Linked DNA regions of Homo sapiens: region 1 is linked to region 2. Evidence: promoter capture Hi-C in human tissues and cell types (Jung and others, 2019). All regions are on one chromosome and are shown on one strand. Each heading gives the region's core, a stretch centred on a gene start or on the middle of the fragment in contact. The rest is flanking DNA. Distances are from core to core; before and after follow the strand shown.

Region 1 (6,876 bases), core at 1,562-4,061, 260 kb before region 2:
CCAACCTATGAGAGCAGCTGCGGGGGCTGAACCCTGTGGTTCAACCCCTCATCTCTACCCTGAGACTTTAGGTTGAGATTCTTTATGAACTGTGTTTGTATAGGTCTAGCTATTCCCTTTCTATTTGATACTGGGCAGATCCAAATTTTACTGAAATGTGAGAAACCATTCTCCAAGGAAAATTCACCAGTGCTGATTTCTAGAGCTGCCAGCTAATACCCAGGAATTTATTTTCTCTGTCTTCAAAGTGCCATACTACCCTAACCCTGACAGGAAGAAAACAACTTTCAGGTTGAGCGCCACATCAAAAAGGCTTCTCCTGTTACTAAAAAAAAAAATTTCATTCACTTGATAGTTACTTCCTGTGTCAAACTATCAGATGTTCCCCTTGAATGCAGCCATCTGGAGGTTTGTTGTTTGTTTTACGCCAACATGTTAACATAAGGCACGTGGAGGGAACAACATCCATTTGTTTACGTATCTAGCTATCCAGCTATGCATCTATCATCTACACATTCAACAATGGTTTCTTGAGTACCTGCTATGTACTATGAGACTTCGAAGCCTCAACTCTTGCATTCGTGCAATACACATACATGACCAAATCTCATGTCAAATTGTAATCCCAACTCTTGCATTCTTGCATATACTATACATATCCAAATTAAGGATGCAACAGTGAGTAAGAATGACATGGTTTCCACTCTCACAGAAATTAGTCTTTTTTTTAGATAATACAGGTCAGTAGTGAAGACACATTTTTCTACTTTCCAAGTTTTCTTGTGCTGGCCTTGGCTCCTCTAGTGGCTATACGGGTGACATCTCAGGTGACATGGTGATTAGTTTGCTCTCACATTGCTATAAAGGAAATACCTGAGACTGGGGAATCCATAAAGAAAAGAGGTTTAATTGGCTCATGGTTCCACAGGCTGTACAGGAAGCATGGCAGCATCTGCTTCTGGGGAAGCCTCAAGAAACTTACAATCATGGCAGAAGGCAAAGTGGGAGCAGGCATCTTACATGATAAGAGCAGCAACAAGAGAGAGAGAGAGAGAAAGAGAGGAGGTGCCCCAAACTTGTAAACAGCCAGATCTCATGAGAACTCTATCATGAGAACAGCACCAAAAGTATGGTGCTAAACCATTCAGGAAGGACCATCTCCATGGTCCAGCCACCTCCCACCAGGCTCCACCTCCAACACTGGGGATTACAATTTGACATGAGACTTGCCTGTGGATATGGATGCAGAGTCAAACCATATCATTCCACCCCTGGCCATTCCCAAATCTCATGTCCTTCTCATATTGCAAAATATAATCATGCCTTCCCAACAGTCCCCTAATTTTAACTCATTTCAGCATTAACTCAAAAGTCCAAAGTTTCATCTGAGACAAGGCAAGTCCCTTCTGCCTATGAAACTGTAAAATAAAAAACAAGTTAGTTACCTTCAAGATACAATGCAGATATAGGTATTGGGTAAATACTCCCATTCCAAAAGGGATAAATCAGTCAAAAGAAAGGGGCTACAGGCACCAGGCAAGCCCAAAACGCAACAGGGCAGTCATTAAATCTTAAAGCTCCAAAATAATCTCTTTTGACTCCATGTCTCACATGAAGAGCACAGTGGTACAAGGGGTGGGCTGCTAAAGCCTTGACAGCTATGCCCAAGGCTTTGTGCCCTACTCCTCAGTACCACTTTTCTATATTAGTCCATTTTCACGTTTTTATAAAGTAATACCTGAGCCAGTGGCTCATGCCTGTGATGCCAGTACTTTGAGAGGCCGAGGTGGGTGGATCACCCAAGGTCAGGACTTCGAGACCAGCCTGGCCAACATGGTGAAGACCCGTCTCTACTTAAAATAGAAAGTTCAGCCCCCATGGCTGCACTCACGAGTTGGCATTGGGTGCCTTGTTTTTCCAGGTGCACAGTGCAAGCTGCTGGTGGATCCACCATTCTGTGGTCTGGAGGATGGCAGTCCACTTCTCACAGCTCCGTGAGGCAGTGCCCCAATGGGAACTCTGTGTGTGAGGTCCAACACCACATTTTCCCTCCACACTTCCCTAGCAGAGGTTCTCTATGAGGGGTCCACCCCTGCAGCAAGCTTCTGCCTGGACATGCAGGCTTTTCCATACATCCTCTGGAATCTAGGCAGAGGCTCCCAAGCCTCAACTCTTGCATTCTGTATACCTGCAGGCTTAACACCATGTGGAATCCACCAAGACTTACGGCTTGCACCCTCTGAAGCAGCAGTGTGAGCTTAACCTGGTTCCCTGTTAGCCACTGTGGGAGCCGGAGCAGCCAGGATGCAGGAAGCAGTGTCCCGAGGCTGTGAGGCTGCTCAGGGCAGCAGGGCACTGGACCTGGCCCATGGAAACCATTCTTCCTTCCTAGGCCTCTGGGACTGTGATGGGAGGGGCTACAGTGAAGGTCTCTCTCGCTCTGTTACCCAGGCTGGAGTGCAGTGGCACAATCCCAGCTCACTGCAACCTCCGTCTCCCAGGTTCAAGCAATTCTCTTGCCTCAGCCTCCTAAGTAGCTTGGGACTACAGGCATGTGCCACCACACCCAGCTAATTTTTTGTATTTTTAGTAGAGACGGGGTTTCACCATGCTGGCCAGACCGGTCTCAAACTCCTGACCATGTGATCTGCCCACCTCAGCCTCCCAAAGTGCTGGGATTACAGGTGTGAGTCACTGTGCCCGGCCTTGGCTTCTTTTTACTTATGTAAATTTCTGCAGCTGGCTTGAATTCTTCCCCTGAAAATGGGCTTTTCTTTTCTACCACATGGCTCAGAGGCAAATTTTTCAAACTTTTATGCTCTGCCTTGCTTTGAAATGTAACTTTGAGTTTATGTCATTTCTTTGCTTATGCACATGAGCATAGGTTGTTAGAAGCAGCCAGGCCATATCTTGAACACTTTGCTTCTTAGGAATTTCTTCTGTCTGATACTCTAAGTCATCACTCTCAAGTTCAATGTTCCACAGATCCCTAGACGGGGGCACAATCCAACCAAGCTCTTTGCCACGGTGTAACAAAAGTGACCTTTGCCCCAGTTCCCAATAAGTTCCTCATCTCCATCTGAGAACTCATGAACTCATCAGCTTGGCCATCTCTGTTCATATCACCATCAGCATTTTGGTCACAATCATTCAACAAGTCTCTAGTAAGTTCCAAACTTTCCCTCACCTCCCTGTCTTCTTCTGAGCCCTCCACACTCTTCCAACCTCTTCCCATTACCCAGTCCCAAAGCCATTTCCACATTTTTAGTTATCTTTATAGCAATGCCCTACTCCTCAGTACCACTTTTCTGTATTAGTCCATTCTCACATTGCTATAAGGAAATCCTTGAGCTGGGCCAGGCATGGTGGCTCACGCCTGTAATCCCAGCACTTTGGGAGGCTGAGGCGGGTGGATCATGAGGTCAAGAGATCGAGACCATCCTGGTCAACATGGTGAAACCCCATCTTTACTAAAAATACAAAAATTAGCTGGACATGGTGGCATGCACCTGTAGTCCTAACTACCTGGGAGGCTGAGGCAGGAGAATCACTTGAACCCGGGAGGTGGAGGCTCCAGTGAGTTGAGATGGCACCACTGCACTCCAGCCTGGTAACAAAGTGAGGCTTTAAAAAAAAAATACTTGAGCTGGGCACAGTGGCTCATGCCTGTAATCCCAGCACTTTGAGAGGCTAAGGTGGGTGGATCACCTGAGGTCAAGAGTTCAAGACCAGCCTGGCCAACATGGCAAAACCCCGTCTCTACTAAAAATACAAAAATTAGCTGGGCATGATGGTGCATGCCTGTAATCCTAGCTACTTGGGAGGTTGAGGTAGGAGAATCACTTGAACCTGGGAGGCAGATGTTGGAGTGAGCCATGATCACACCATTGCACTCCAGCCTGGATGACAAGAGTGAAACTATGCCTAAAAAAAAAAGAAAAAAAAAAAAAGCCGGGTGTGGTGGCTCACGCCTGTAATCCCAGCACTTTGGGAGGCCAAGGTGGGTGGATCACCTGAGGTCAGGACTTCAAGACTAGCCTGGCCAACATGGTAAAACCCCATCTCTACTAAAAATACAAAAATTAGCTGGGTGTGGTGGCAGGCACCTGTAATCCTAGCTACTTGGGAGACTGAGGCAGGAGAATCACTTGAACCTGGGAGGGGTAGGTTGCAGTGAGCTGAGATTGCGCCACTGCATTCCAGCCTGGGGGACAAGAGTGAGACTCCGTCTCAAAAAAAAAAAAAAAAAAGAAAAAAAAAAGAAATACCTGAGACTGGTTAATTTGTAATGAAAAGAGGTTTAATTGGCTCATGGTCCCACAGGCTATACAGGAAGCAATGAAGCATCTCCTTCTGGGGAGGCCTCAAGAAACTTACAATCATGGTGCCAGAGGGCAAAGTGGGAGCAGGCATCTTACATGGCAGGTGCAGGACCAAGAGCGAGAGAGGGGAGGTGCCACACACTTTTAAACAGCCAGATCTCACGAGAACTCTATCATGAGAACAGCACCAAAGGGATGGTGCTAACCATTCAAGAAGGACCATCTCAGTGATCCAATCACCTCCCACCAGGCTCCATCTCCAACACTGGGGATTAAAATTTGACATGAAATGTGGGCAGGGACACAGATCCAAACTATAGCACATGGTGACTGTGGTAGCTCTGACAGTGGAGGCAGGGAGCTCCCCTGTGCTGGTAATGTGGTTTTAATACACTGACAGTGGTTACTTAGTCAAGCTCTAGAGAACAGTCTTGGAAGCAGCTTCCTCTTTAACGACAAGGACAAAATTCTCAGCAGTGGCCACAAGAACATTGGCAATAGTAGCTGTTCTGCCATTTTCAGTGGTCTCTCCAGCACCACTGCAAACTAAATAGAAAACAAATGCAAATTTTATGTCTTTTTATGAAAATGTAGCTCCTGGTCTTGCTTGGAAACACATCAGTTCTGTAAAATAGAGCACTTTTTTATACCCTAATTTTCTCAAGAAATGATGTCATTTGTTTCTCAAATATTTAATATTTCTGTAACTACATGGTAAATCAAGATTGCTTTTCAATTCTTTGTGGTTTTTTTTTTGTTTGTTTGTTTTTTTTTTTTTTTTTTTTTTTTTTTTTTGAGACGGAGTCTCACTGTTTCCCAGGCTGGAGTGCAGTGGTGTGATCTCGGCTCACTGCAAGCTCCGCCTTCTGGTTCACGCCATTCTCCTGCCTCATCCTCCCGAGTAGCTGGGACTACAGGCGCCCCCCACCACGCCCAGCTAATTTTTTGTATTTTTTAGTAGAGACGGGGTTTCACCGTGTTAGCCAGGATGGTCTCAATCTCCTGACCTTGTGATCCACCCGCCTCCGCCTCCCAAAGTGCTGGGATTACAGGCATGAGCCACTGCACCCAGCTGCTTTTCAATTCTTCTGGTATTTTCAGCTTGGTGGTATGTAGTAGCTAGGTGATGACATTAGATAACATTGTTTTTAGAAAGGGAAATTTAAAATAATGTGTCTAGTTGGGACTCTACAGAGAAAAGAAGACAGTAAGTAATTAGCCAATTTATAACTAGGAACAAAAGATATAGCTCCAACCTTTACTTTTGAACAAAACAATGAAATAATATAAAAATAGAACAGTACTTTTTAGGTAATATAAGTGAGTTGAAACCTCGGCCAGGCATGGTGGCTCACTCCTGTAATCCCAGCACTTTGGGAGGCCGAGGTGGGTGGATCACCTGAGGTCAGGAGTTCGAGACCAGCCTGACCAACATGATGCAACCCCATCTCTACTGAAAATAAAAAAAAATTAGCTTGGCGTGGTGGTGCATGCCTGTAATCCCAGCTACTCAGGAGGCTGAGGCAGGAGAATCGTTTGAACCCGGGAGGCAGAGGTTGCAGTGAGCCAAGACCTCACCATTGCACTCTAGCCTGGGCAATAAGAGCAAAAGACTCCATCTCAAAAAACAGCAACAATGAAAAACCCTCATAAGAACATTGTATACGCTGTATAGCGTTTTTGGCCTTAACTATCTCTGCACATGGTAGAGTTTAAAGCTTCTTAAATTACACAATTTGCAGAATGCCACATAGTCTGACTTCCTTTACTGCATCGGTCATAGGGGACTGCTATGGTAGATCCTTTTCTTCTGCCTGTCTGGGAGATTCCTACCATTGCAAGCACTTCCTATGAGGTCAGAAATGACAAATGTATAGCAGACATGTCTATGCCCAGAGGACCACCACTCATCCATTCCAGCACTCTTTTTTTTTTCTTTTGAGACAGAGTTTCGCTCTTGTCATCCATGCTGGAGTACAGTGGCGTGACCTCTGCTCACTGCAACCTCCGCCTCCCAGGTTTAAGCAATTCTCCTGCCTCAGCCTCCCAAGTAGCTGGGATTACAGGCACCTGCCACCATGCCAGCTAATTTTTGTATTTTTAGTAAGGATGGGATTTCACCATGTTGGCCAGGCTGGTCTGGAACTCCTGACGTCAGGTGATCCAGCCGCCTCAGCCACCCAAAGTGCTGGGATTACAGGCATGGGCCACGGCTCCTGGCCCCAGCAATCTTTACCACTGAGCCCATGCATGGCCTCAGAATCCTTATCAGCTCACCATTCTAGGGCCCACTACCAATCGGTTGGAATTAACAGGAGATGAACTGTATTTGGTATTTTTGGATTAGGGAATTAAAACAGGGGCATTAGCTCTAAAGCCTATAGGGAAGTGAGGCTGTAATCCCAGCACTTAGGGAGGCTAAGGTGGGAGGATTGCTAGAGCCTGGGAGTTCAAAACCAGCCTGGGCAAGAGAGAGAACCCATTTCTACAAAAAATAAAAATTTAGCCAGGCATGTTGATGTGTCCTTGTAGTCCCAGCCAGTTGGAAGGCTGA
Region 2 (7,514 bases), core at 668-3,167:
CTCCTAGGGACTCCCCAAAACATGGGTGGAGCTTTGTAGGGTACTGGGTACTGTTTCCTGCAGTAGCAGAGAAGATAAGAGCTGGTAAAACACAGGCTACAAAACTCATTTACTAAGGTAGTCACTTTTTTTTTTCCCATTCCTATATCTTTGCCTCTTAAACTTGGGTAGGCTTTTGTTTAACAATAGCAAAGTAAAATCTTCTTCCTTAAGTCTTTATGATACTTCTCTAGCAAGCCTGGGATGTGACTGAGTTATTTTTACAATCTGCTGTTTGGTTTTCCTGTCATTTACTCCCTGCTCAGCAGAGCTCTTCTGCAGTGATCATTGCGCTTGTTTAGCAGGCAGGCTACATTCTACACACTTGCTTTTGCTGATCTCACCTTAGCATTTTGTGGTAACAAAGCTGTGTGCACAACCAAAGTTGTGCCTTTCTTACTCTGTAAGATGGGCTGCCTTCCTGCAGATGACTTTTGTTCTATGTTCCACTGTGTCTTGTTTGTGCCATTCTTAATTTACACGACAGAGATGCTGTCATCACCAATTAACATTAATCAAGGGCCCCCTGGATGCATGGCTGCATTGGGACTAATTTAATATGCTCTTTGTTCCAGATATCAGGTGGCTTCTTCAAATGATTTTTAAGTATCTCGATGATGATGAAGAACAAAGACATCAATCAGGATTCAGGAAGACAGCTTTTGCGGAAAATGCTTAAAGGGAAGCATCAAGGATTGGTGTTGATATTTGAAAGTTTAAGAGTGGTATACTTTTATTCAGTCAACACATGACAAATGTAAAAGGCACTCATTTGTTGTTCCTGGAAGAAGCCTGGCAGCATTCCATTCAGACATCTGCCCTTTCATCGTCCCACTTTTTACTTATTGCAGTCCTTTCAGTCTGAATATTTCCTCCTGACGCATCTTCTGCCGTCCGAAATGACTCCCTGCTCCCAGATCCTGTAGCCCTTATTATTGACACCTTTCATTTAGAAATTTAGCACATGTCACATTACACCATTATTGAATAAATAATGAATAAATAAATAAATAAAGATGTATGTCCTTCCCAAGTATATCAGAGAACTATCTGGACAATTTCTTTCTTTCCCAATTCTCAGAATCAGCAGTATTCTGTCAAGAAACATTTATCGACGATGATGGCAATAGTCGATTAAAATCAGATGAAGTTTTATTTTTAAAAAAAGGTTGAGCGGAGAGACAAGGCTGAAGGTTTGGAAGTTGAGACAACCATCTTCAATAAACGTTTTCTCATCTAAGGGCTGTATGTACATCATTTTGGGGAAGGTAGAGATTGAAGGAGGAAGAACATCACTGGAGGAAGAGACAGCAGTTTGTCTTTCGAGTTTCAATAAAGTTTCAAAAATCTTGCCTAAGTTATATATTTTTTTGGCCTTTCCCTTTTGATGTGACAATAAACTGTAATGCGGCTGTCGTTTGTACGAACCGATATTCAGCAGAATAAATCTGAGCACTTTCAGAAAAAGAAGCGTTCGGTTTTCTCATAGATGTTAGCATGAAGAACACACTTTGACCTTTGATGCTGTCAAGCACCTGGGCCAGCGAGGCTGGCGGCTGGCGAATTCCACCAGCAAGCAGACGCATTGCTGCGCAGGACCCGGCGAACCAGGGACCGGTCCACCCAACCCAGGAAGGCACCCCCGGGGTCCCGCCCAGCCCGGTTCCGGGAGCCTTATTGGCCGGCCTTCCGCCCGCCATCTCTATCAGCCCCAGGGATTTGGCAAGGGAGGTAGGCGGCTCCCTTTCGGCCACTCATTGGTCAAATCCTAATGGAGGTAAGGCACTCTGCGAGTCTCTATTGGTCCCTAGGCTCCAAAAAGGGCGGGGAAAAACAGACCGACAGGCCTCTAGGCGGGAAGCGCGGAGTGCGCCGGCGCGTAGTCGGGGACGCCGGGCCGAGGCTTTGCTAGGGAACACTGTTATCGCCCCGCCCCCTCGGAGCTTTTTCTCCAGTTAACTGTCGGAGTAGCGGGGGCTCCGGCGCCGGGCGACATGCCGGTGCGCTTCAAGGTGAGGCTGGGGTCCCCGGGCCGGAATGTGGCTGGGGGGAGCCATGGCCGGGGAGGTGTGGAGCGCCGAGGTCACGCTGCTTTTCTGCGCTGCAGCCCTCTGCCCGGCGGAAGCTGCCAGCCCCAGGGCCTGCTCGAGGGGCCCCAGAATCTGCCCGCCGCCTCTTAACCTAGTTCCCTCTCCGCTCACTCACATTTGCAAGCTGCAGTGTGTCGAAGAGTCAGATGGTGCGAGACACATTTACTTAGGGGGACTCAAGAGGAGTGGAGATGGGAGGAGGTCCCTTTGCGAAGAGAACTAAAGGCGACTTCAGATTGGGACACCTGTGGCCCATTTAGCTTAGCATTTAACCCCCATTACCTTTAAAACTTTAGTGTATGTGGCTTTTAAAGGCTTGAGAAATGGGTTCTTAGTAAAGACAGCGTATAAAGAAATACACGTTTTTCATCGTTGTGCATTCTTAGCGTATGTTAAAAGTTCCAGGTAGCTGGTAGCTGTCAGGGACTAGCACCCTGCAACTTCACAGGTGGCCACAGCGTCCCACATCTCCTGACTCATTTATCTTAAAGGCGTGTATTCAGAATGGAAGGGGAGTTTGCCTTTTGTTGACTTTATCAAATAGCAAAAGGTCCTAGGCATGGTACATAATATTGTGTACTCGGTGAAAACCTGCGATAAATCTAGAATGATGAGAATTTAGATTGTCATTAGTTATCCGACAAGAACTCATGCTTTGGAATCAGATAATCAGTGAAAGGGTAACCTCTGAGCCTGGAATTCCTGGTAGCATCTGCCTCAAGTGGTGTTGTGGATTAAAGGATATAACACGTGTGAACTGCTTAGCACAGGGCTGGGTGAATATTAGCTCTTATTAAGGAGCTCGTCTGTGTTTAATTTTCAGTCTTAAGTCTCTTTTGGGAGGTTCAGAAATTATTTTTCACCGATGTCTGCTTTAAAACATCATTCATTAATTGGACTGTACTCAAAAGTGTACTTTGCATTACAGGGGCTGAGTGAATACCAGAGGAACTTCCTGTGGAAAAAGTCTTATTTGTCCGAGTCTTGTAATTCCTCCGTGGGGCGAAAGTACCCATGGGCTGGACTTAGATCAGATCAATTAGGTAAGTTGAGCAGGCTAATAGCCATTCTAACCTGGGCTAAGTTTATAACTTGGGCCAAGCCGTTATAACTTGGGCTAAGTAAACCTTGGGCTAAGTTTACCAAATGATATATTAAAAGTTCAGTTGGCCTGGTTGATTTATTCATTTATTAATCAAGTATTTATTGAAGGTTTACTATGAGCCAGGACTATTCCCAGCAGCTAGTGTGGCAGGCCAGGTTTCACTAATGGAGGCCTCCATCACAACTGTTTCGGTACTGACTGAGCGGTTAAGTTAAATATTGAAAGCTAAAAAAAGCCAGTGCCCTTACACAAAGGCTGGGATGTCACAAAAGCCCATCAAGAGTATTGCCTAGGCCTTTCCTGGGCCATAAAGCATGACAAAATAAGGAATTCTTAACAGGATCCGTTTAGGATTAAACAAGTTTTACTGGGGGTCTGAAGAAACTCCCCAGGCCTCCACAAATTTATTGGCGGTCTGAAGGAACTCCTCAAACCTCCATGATTCAGCAGGAGACAAGATAAGGGTAATCAGCCCAGCACCTAGACCCATTTAGATTAAGTAAATTTACTGATGCTCCAGAAGAAGGTCTTCAGGACTCAGACCTTAGTTATAGATTAAAAGAAGTTAATCACTTATATCCTTAGATGAATGCACACTTACACGTAGACATATAGCTTAGAAGGTATATAAGCTCTGAAAAACTTTGTAATTTGGGGTTCGTCTGGTGATAATTTGCAGGCCTTCTTCCCGTAACTGGTTATAGAAATAAAAACTCTCTTTCTCCCTAGTTTATCTGCATCTCGTTATTGGCCGAGAGAAATAGCAGCCTGACCCTCAGTTTGGTCTGGGAACACTAGGGATATAGCCCTGAACCAAAGTCCCTTAACTGTGGAGAGAAACAGTAAGCAAGTCACTCAATAATTAAGGGAATTTCAGGTTTTTATATAAAATTGTAGGGAAGTGTGATACATAACATGCGGGAGGAGTGGATTGGAGGGAAAATGCTTTAGATTAGATGGTTGGGAAAGGCTCTTTTTGAGGAGGTGATATTTGAGCTGAGACCTGAAAGCTGAGGGGACAATGCTGGGGAAGAGTGCTCCCAAGGTCTTGAGAAATGGAAGCTTAGGGAGATGAGGTCGCTGCCCCAGCTTTACAGCTAGTAAGTGGCAGAACCATGATTTGAAATCAAGTCTGTTTTGTGCAAAGCATGTAATTTCAGAGGTCATGTTCTTGTTATCACACATGCCTCCTCCCTGTGTCCCAGGGAAGGCAGAGTCCTGGGCCAGAGTTTCCCGGAGGGTGATAGAACAGAAGGGAGACAGACTGACCTCATTATACCTGCTTATTTAATTCTTCCTTACTAGTATATTAGATCTCTGAGAGTAGGGCTCTGTCTTATTCACCACCCAGTACCTAACACAGGCCTTGGAACATTCTATTGCTTCTTGAAACTATTTTTTGAATGAATGAATTAGCCTAAATTTGAATTATAATAGCTGTGTGATGTTGGGCAAATTGAGCTAGTTTCACCAAGTGAGATTTTAGGAAGTCTGTTGCATAGGATTACTGGGAGGGTTTAAATGAGATGTTGCCTATTAAGGGCCTGGTTTGAGTACACAGATCAGTGCTTAGTGTCCCACATGTGATGTGTGCGAGCATGGCATGTAAGTCACATAAATGTTAGATGTTTGAAGCCAGGAAAAGACTTATGGGTAGGGTACCAAGCCTGGAAAGTTAGTAAGACGACGAGGTATTTTCAGAATTTGGTCTAGAGAACAAAGGGAAGAGTGGGCAAGAGTGAGTGTCTCTTTTAGAGTTCCTCTGAAGCATCATGATCTGACCCAGCGGCAAACTTCAGAGACTGGGTGTCCCTGCTTCTCCGGCAGGGTGCTAGGAAAATCCCTCTGCTCATAATCCTCTTTTTACAAATGACCAGAAATTCCACATATTTGAACCTCCATTAGATTAAGAATCCAAATAAATCTCTGTTTAAGCATAGATATCCCACCCTGCTGAGCGCCTACAGGGCTATTATGACACTGGAAAATTCATTAAACTGGGTAGTTGTCCAATAACATTTCAGCTTAGATCAGCTGCATTTGAGGGGAAGGTGATGAAATGAGACCATGAGAGCAAAGCCACCTTAGAGCATGGTATATAATGAAGGAAGGAATGGACTAGGGGAGGAACGTTAGTGGGGAATTTTAGGTCATGGGGAGGGACTGAGCAAGAATTCCAGAATGCTCAGAATGGGAGGTGGGAGGTTAGCAAAAAACAACAGCAGTGTTACCGAGGATGGCTGTCCCTTCTTTTAGAGTAGTGTATTTTTACCCTGGGGATTTGCTGGTGCTGGGAGACAGCGGCAGACCACTTGAGAATCTTCTTTCATTTTGTGCTTCTACCAAAAACCTGCCTCTGTGTTAAAGCAGAGAGGAGTCTAATTGGTGATCTTCAAGCTTTTTTGCTTTTATACTTCCTAGAAAAATTTAGAAAAACATTGTGCTTCGTCACACATTTCTAAATTGCTATTTTTTATAATAAATTTTTATGAATAGTTTTGAATGATAGAATTTCTGGTATATTGCATAGTGCTTATATATTTTACATATATTTTGTAAAAACTCTGGAGTTGCCAATTTAGCCCATTCAATTTTTGGAAAATGTTTATCATACAATTGGCAAAGTCAGTATTCATTGGCAAACTAACCGGCCAAATTAGAATTATTTTCTGTGAGAAAGTCTGTTTATCTTTAATTAAGGTAAATGTGTTATATGCATATGTACATTTCACATGACATCCCTCTCATATCTGAATTTTAATACTGAGAAGGTAGATGGAAAATCCATGGAGCTATATGAAATAAGATGCTGTTGCTTTGTTATTTCTAATCTCTGCCTGCTTTGTTTTGCTGTCAAATATTCTCCCTCAGGGATATGCTTTCTTGAATTGTCCCTTTGTTTGGCTCCCTACCCCTGAGGTTTTGTTCTACCTTGGGCGGACGCACTGGAGTAAGTTTCAGGCTGGTTAAGAGGTGTGTCTTTCTTCTCTAAAGTGGGAAAAAGGAGATTATGAAAGGGGCGGTGGGAAATGGAACTGCAGATGGCAGATGCAGCTCTCAGGCAGATATATCAGCATCAGGCAAGAGAGCACATGTGGAGTTGAGGATCTGGAAAATGATTCCCTTAAGCTGCCCACTTCTGTTTACCCTCCTAAAACATCTTTGTGTGCCTCCAGACAGATATCCACCCAGTGAGAAGACCTGTGGTCTAGGGAAGCCTTTTAAAAGGATAAGGACCCGGGGTGACATGGCCAAGACATCTACAACAGAGGCTAAGGAGCCCTGGGTTTTACCTCATGCCCAATTTTCTTTCCACCTTCCCTTTCCATTCTGGTCTTAATCTTCCTTCTGCACCCTGCAACTGTCTTAAAGAATGGCCCTAAACTAGGGCAGTCTCTCAGTGGCTGTCATTCTGCAGAGCTGCTCTTACCTTCATAGAAGGTTAAGTTTTTGGACATTTGCTTTCCATACAGAAATATAGAGAAATTGTATCTTAGCTGTTGTTAAAAGGGCTTATTCTTTTTTAATTCTCAGGAAATCAAGGCAGATGTAGAACCAAGATCCAGCACAGTGACATCTCATCCCTTCTCATCTTGGTCTGCTCCACATAAGAGAAGCTTTGTGAAAAGTTCCAAATTTTGACAGTACCAGGGCCCATTGTTCTGTTAAGTAGCACAGGAAAGTAATTAGAAACGAGGCAGCATGTACTGCCTGGCCTGCCAGGTCTATCACGTTGCAATTCTAGTGACTTTTGTTAGGATAACTGGAACATTTTGTGACCCCCTGATTTTTAATTTTTTGTTATGGTCAAATTTTTAATGCTTTTAAAAGCAAAATTAAATATTTTATGTTGAAAAGCTGTACTTTTAAAATCCTATAATCTGAAGGATATTGTGTGTATATATAGGTACATATATCTGAACTAAATTTAAAATTTCATTTCTCCTCCACAAGTGTTCTTAAAAGTTGTCTTTGTAACTTTTTGCTTTAGTAGCTACTATTTTTGTATACCGTGTTTTGTAGGCATCACGAAAGAGCCAAGTTTTATTTCAAAAAGAAGAGTCCCTTACCATGACCCACAGATTTCAAAATCTCTGGAGTGGAATGGAGCTATCTCAGAGAGCAATGTGGTTGCATCACCAGAACCAGAAGCCCCGGAAACACCAAAATCACAAGAAGCAGAACAAAAGGATGTTACTCAAGAAAGAGTTCACTCACTAGAAGCTTCCAGGGTTCCCAAAAGAACCAGATCTCACTCTGCAGACTCCAGAGCTGAAGGG

What was found. Contacts are between HindIII fragments. The study calls those that stand out against the background at their distance.
Region 1: a fragment that was not itself captured here is called in contact with the fragment with the promoter of MDM1 in region 2 in 2 of the 25 tissues and cell types used here (lymphoblastoid cells and stomach).

What each region holds. Positions count from the first base shown.
Region 1 is chr12:68,585,402-68,592,277 of GRCh38, reverse strand. No RefSeq gene overlaps it. Among named protein-coding and RNA genes, the nearest start is that of RAP1B, 22 kb to the left of the region's middle. RefSeq lists enhancers at 1-209, 4,371-4,420. The HindIII fragment of the contact is 7,878 bases long and covers 1-6,750 here.
Region 2 is chr12:68,326,765-68,334,278 of GRCh38, reverse strand. It overlaps MDM1 (Mdm1 nuclear protein), which reads left to right and starts at 1,917. Exons shown (of 15, transcript NM_001354969.2): 1 at 1,917-2,051; 2 at 3,058-3,172; 3 at 7,258-7,514. The coding sequence starts at 2,034. LOC105369819 (a long non-coding RNA gene) reads right to left here and starts at 1,648. Exons shown (of 3, transcript XR_945057.3): 1 at 1-1,648. RefSeq lists a silencer at 1,717-1,976 and an enhancer at 2,277-2,366. The HindIII fragment of the contact is 12,003 bases long and covers 1-4,964 here.